Regions from separate parts of the Homo sapiens genome. Here region 2 is linked to region 1. The links are contacts of gene promoters, found by promoter capture Hi-C in blood cells and fetal thymus (Javierre and others, 2016). All regions are on one chromosome and are shown on one strand. The core of a region is centred on a gene start or on the middle of the fragment in contact, and the rest is flanking DNA. Distances in the headings are between cores, read along the strand shown.

The links. Contacts are between HindIII fragments. The CHiCAGO score rates a contact against its expected background, and 5 or more counts as called.
Region 2: a contact is called between a fragment that was not itself captured here and the fragment with the promoter of UBE2L6 in region 1, in 1 of 17 cell types (naive CD8 T cells). The highest score is 5.1, in naive CD8 T cells.

What each region holds. Positions count from the first base shown.
Region 1 is chr11:57,566,358-57,569,057 of GRCh38, forward strand. It overlaps UBE2L6 (ubiquitin conjugating enzyme E2 L6), which reads right to left and starts at 1,315. Exons shown (of 4, transcript NM_004223.5): 1 at 1,228-1,315. The coding sequence starts at 1,254. RefSeq lists an enhancer at 1-65 and a silencer at 1,319-1,678. The HindIII fragment of the contact is 19,025 bases long and covers 1-2,700 here.
Region 2 is chr11:58,597,800-58,600,664 of GRCh38, forward strand. The region is part of intron 2 of ZFP91 (ZFP91 zinc finger protein, atypical E3 ubiquitin ligase); the gene reads left to right. The region is part of intron 2 of ZFP91-CNTF (ZFP91-CNTF readthrough (NMD candidate)); the gene reads left to right. Among named protein-coding and RNA genes, the nearest start is that of ZFP91-CNTF, 20 kb to the left of the region's middle. The HindIII fragment of the contact is 1,645 bases long and covers 643-2,287 here.

The DNA of each region.
Region 1 (2,700 bases), core at 65-2,564:
GGAGGCCTGTGGACCTGGTTTCATATTCCAGTCCCATTGCTCCTTACTGAAAGACTCTGGACAAGCAAGTTATTTCCTCTGTGCCTCAATTTCCTCATTTGTAAAATGCGGGTATATATTACTTATCTCACAGAACTGCTGTGCGAATTAGATGAAATAACCATGTAAACCGTTTGGCATGTAATGGTTCCAATGCAATAAATTCTGGCTCCCATCTCTCTTCCACTTGGCTGGAAAGACCCTCTGCCTCATTTTGCTGCCAACCTCCAGATTTAGTATCTAGGCCAAGCCTGCTCTGGGCATCCCAGTCTGAGGCCATTTTCTTCTCAGAGGCTGAGGGTAGCAGGCACCCTCTTCCTAGAGCCTGCCCCTCCACCCTGCAGACTGGAAGGGGCACTTCTGAAAGACTTGGGGTGCCAGACTCACTTCACCAGGATCACCTTCCTCCCTAATCCATCTCCAAACACCCTGGGTTTTCCCACCTTCTGGAGGAAACTGCCCCCTCCCCATCCTTCCAGATCTTATTTCAAATTGTGTCCCTGATAGGAACAAAATTCAACAAGGGCCGGATTTGTGTTCATCTCTGCCCGCCCCCCCCCCCCTCCTAGAACAGGGCCAGCACATGTAGGCATTCAACACTTGTAGAACTCACGAACGCAAGCCACCTACTCCAGGAGGCCTTCCAGGTCCACCTCCGCATCTTTTCCTCCAGAGAATACTCAGGGAACTTTGTCCCAAATTCTAATCAGCATTCCGTGTTTCTCAGGACTCTAGTAATACAGGCATCAAATTATGGGATGGGCTATGGGCTTATTCCAAGGCAAGGACTTCATCCTGGTCATCTGTGTTCATAACCCACCACCAGCAGTAGCAGAATGCCTGGCACCAAGATGCCAAGGACTTTTCCTGCACTGGAGATGCACCCAGTTGTTATCACAAGTTTCAGGCAGGAAAAGCGAAATTGAAACCAGTTTTGGGGGAGCCGGCTCATCTTCACCACGCGAACGGCTCAAGCAGAGGCCTCCAAACCCCCAAAACCCCAGCTCTGGCCACTCTTGCAGGCCAGTCCTCCTCTGAGTAGAGGGCGGGGAGGACAGGGATTCAGCCAGCCCTGGTGCCCAGACAAATAAATAAATGTGCTCGGAGAGCCGCGGAGGGGATGGAGGGAGGAGGGAATGCGGGAGGCGAGGGGAGCCAAGAGAAAGGGGTCATCCTATACGCGGTTACCTTCACCACTCGCATGCTCGCCATCATGTCGGGACCGAGTGTGTGGCACCCGTGGCCTCCAGCAGGACCGAGCTCCGACCCGCGACACAGCGCGCCCCGCCCCGCCCCGGGGACCCCACCCCCGGCAGCCCCGCCCACCCCTCCTCCAGCCGTCGCTGCGTGGGCCTCCCCGCACCCGCTCCGGCGAGGCCAGGAGGCCGTCGAAGGACGACCCGCCGGACAACCGCCCGATCCCCGCGCGGAAGGCTCGGACCCGGGACTCACGGTCTTTGTGCGGAGACGGGGGCGGGCCTCGGGGCGCACGGCTTTGCTGATCCCTGCCTCCCGCGGGGTGCGCCGTGCACCGGCGGCGAGCGCTCAGGGGCGCTGGGGGGCGCTCATACGGGTTCCAGTCTTCGCTCCGCCGGCGGCCGCACCGGGAGCTCTCCGGTCTTTGTCAGCCCCCTGCACGCCGCCCCAAATACACACTCGCCCTGAATAAATAAGGGATGCTCGCTGTACAGACGCAGCTCCGTGACAGTTCTCAGCGGCCTCCACTATCGGACTGCCGCCTTGAGCCCCTGCCCCAGCAAGCTGCCGGAGCCGCCGAGCCTGCCGCCTTCCCTCCATGGGCCCAGCGCTCCATCTCCGAAACTGCGTGGGGGATGGCGTAGACCTGTGCCCTCCGAGCACCGCTCCCCGGCAGTCGGGGATCCTTTGTGCTGCCCGGCGTTCGGCGCGGGCTGCAACGTTTCTCCCCGTGGCTTGGGGCAGAGCACCGCAAGGAGGCGCTGTTGGACCCTTTCTCTTTTGCTTTGGGGGTTCGGTCTACCATCATTCAGTCCTTTACTAGGTTTAGTATTTACTAAGTGCCTACTGTATGCTGGTTTGGGAAACAGTTGGTGGGGGAAGCCCCAAGAAGGACTCAGGAGCCTCCTTTCCAAGAGAGAGTCTGCTTCCCCTCCCTTACTTTACTACTGGTCCATTACAAGCTGTGGGCCTAATGTGTGCCCCCATGCACAGCTGGAGTCCCCAACCCTCTGTGCAAGGACAGAGTACTTGCAGCCCCTGAGCACCAAGCAGCATCTGGGGAAGATGAGACTTGTTGGGAGGGCCGATCCCCTCCTTCTCACCCTTCCCTACCCCCGTTTAGTCCAGACGAGAAAGGAAATCAGTATATTTTGAGCACCAGTTTGTGATCTCAGTACCTCACAGTTTTTTTGTTTCTTGTTTTTCTGACAGAGTTTCACTGTCGCCCTGACTGGAGTTCAGTGGCGATATCGGCTCACTGCAACCTCCGCCTCCCGGTTCAAGCTGTTCTCGTGCCTCAGCCTCCTGAGTAGCTGAGATTTACAGGCGCGCGCCACCACGACCGGCTCATTTTTGTATTTTTAGTAGAGTCAGGGTCTCGAGCTCCTGGTTTCAAGTAATCCACCCGCCTCGGCCTCCCAAAGTGTTGGAATTACAGGCGTGAGCCACCGTAATGTTTTTATC
Region 2 (2,865 bases), core at 215-2,714, 1.0 Mb after region 1:
CTGCAGCTACACACCTCAACCTTCTATGCTTATTAAGCAATTCAACTTTTTCTTGTAATACCGTGACTTTTCTCTGCTTCTTGGAAGCACTTCCAGTATCACTAGTGGCAACTCTTATGGGTCCCGTAGTGTTAGTCAAGGTTTCAGGTATTGCTCTAAACATAGTGAAAAATGAGTTAACTGAGAGATACCACTTCTACTGTGACAGTAAATTCACTCAGGTGGTGATGATTATCCTCATGACATTTTAAGCAGATACTTGAAACAGCTGAGCTTGCTGCAATAGCAACAGGAGATAGCTATGAAATTATTATGTACGGAGTTAATTTTATGCAGTTATTCATTAGTACATCTTTACGTTTCTTTACATTTCTCTGGACTTTGGATGATACCATATATAGTCTAAGACTTTGTGTGTGTAAGTTTTGTTGAATTTTAACTTTTTATATTTGTGTATATTTTACAGTAATGTCATCAAATAGAGTGGTATCTATAGTTTATGCATTCATGACATAACTTAATTTTTCAATATTTCTAGGCTACACAGTTTGTCTGCAAGTTTTTTCAAATTGTCACAAATCTCCAAAAAATTTTCTTACATATTTTAAAAAACTGGCGTATGAATGGATCCATGCAGTTCAAAGCTTTGTTGTTCAAGGGTTAACTAACTGTAGTTATATTCACTGTGCCTGCATGTTGCTCATGCAGTGACTAGTATGATGTCTTCCTTTACCCAAGCTAGTATGGCTTTTTTCTCTTATTATTTATGTATCAAGGAACCTCCTCAAGGTTAGCTGCTATTATAAGAAACAACTGGAAATTGTCTTTGAAGTACCACACAGAAGAAACTTGGCTTGTTTCCTATCTGTTTATGATTGTTTATGCTAATGTATGGATTGTCCTTCAGTTGTCAATTTCTATTCCAGAAACCTGGCAATACTTTTGTGCACGTGTGTGTGTGTGTGTGTGTGTGTGTGTGTGTGTGTGTTTTGAGGTGAAATTCACATAACAAAAAAATAGTAAAAAATACTTGAAAGCATACAATTCAGTGACATTTGGTACATTTACAGTGTTGTACAACCATCACTTCTATCTAGTTCCAAACATTTTCATCACCACCAACAAAGGAGACCCCTGTACCCATTAAAAGCAGTTATTCCCCCTTCCCTCCTGTTCAGCTGCAACAAACATTAATCTGCTTTGTCTCTATGGATTTACCTATTCTGGATATTATATGTAATTGGAATCATACAATATGTGCAATATGTGACTTTTGTTTCTAGCATCTATCATATAGCATATTTTTAAGGTTCACATTGTAACATGTTAAGATTGCATTCCTTTTTATGGCTGGATAAAAATTTTCGTTGTATGTATATATGACATTTTGTTTATCCATTCACTGGTTAATGGATATTTGGGTTGTTTCCACAATTTGGGTATTGAGAATTGTGCTTCTATGAATATTCATATGTAATAAGTATTTCTTTGAATAGCTGTTTTCAATTTTTGGTGTATGTACCTAGAAGTGGAATTGCTGGATCATATGGTAATTCTGTGTCTAAGTTTTTCTTAACATTTTTCTTAACACTGTTTTCTTAGGTTTTCCATAACACTGTTTTCCTCATTAGCTGCCTCATTTTACATGTCCACCAGCAATAAACAATGGTTCCAATTTCTCTGCATTCTCACCAACACTTCTTATTTTCTTTTTTTATTATTTTTAGTTAGCCATTGTAGTATGTGGGAAATGGTAATCTCATGTGATTTTGATTTGCATTTCGTTAATGACTGATGTTCCGTATCTTTTCAAGTACTTTTTTGGCCTTTTGTATATCTCTGGAGAAATAATCTGTTTAGGTTCTTTGCCCATGTTTTAATTGGGTTGTTTCTCTTTTTGTTGTTAAATCCAAAGACTTTATATATTTTGGATATTAGACTTTTACCAGATATATGACTTGCAAATATATTCTCCCATTCTGTAGGGTTATCTTCACTTCTATGCATTTTTTAGTGCTAGCTCCTGTGTTTAGGTCTTTGATCCATTTTGAGTTAATTTTTATATATGGTATAAGGTAGGAATACAACGTCATTTTTTGCATGTGGATATCCATTTGTCTTAGCACCATTTCTTGAAGAGACTGTTTTCACCTACTGAATGGTCTTAGCCACCTTCTTAAAAATCAGTTGACCACAGATGTATAGATTTATATCTGGACCTTTAATTCAGTTAGTTGATTCAATTATTATTAGTTTTATGCCGGTAATACATTGTATTGATTACTGAAGCTTTATAGTAAGTGTTGAAATTGAGAAGAAAAAAGTGCGTCTTTAATTCTGTTTGTTTTCAAGATGGCTGTGACTAGTGTAGATCCCTTGCATTTTCCTGTGAACTTTAGGATTGGGTTGTCAATTTCTACCAAAAAGGAAGCTGGGGTTTTGATAAGAATTACAGTTAATCTGTGGGTTTATTTTCAGAGTATTGTCATCTTAACAATTTTTCAATATTTTATTCCTTTTTATTCTATTGTAAAGGTAATCATTTTCTTAATTTCCTTTTTGTTCATTGCTAATATACTTAAAACAATGAATGTTATATGTTGGTCATATATTCTGGCACTTTGAATAAAGGTAATAATTATTTTCTTAATTTCCTTTTTGTTCATTGCTAATATGCTTAAAACAATGAATGTTACGTGTTGGTATTATATTCTGGCCCTTCGAATTTGTATATGACCTTTAACAGTTTTCTTTTGTGAAAATTCTTTAGAATTTTCTATATGTAAGGTCTTTTCACCTGCAAATAGAGATACAGTTTTACTTCTTCCTTTTCACTTTGGGTGCCTCTTTTTTTACTTGAGTAAT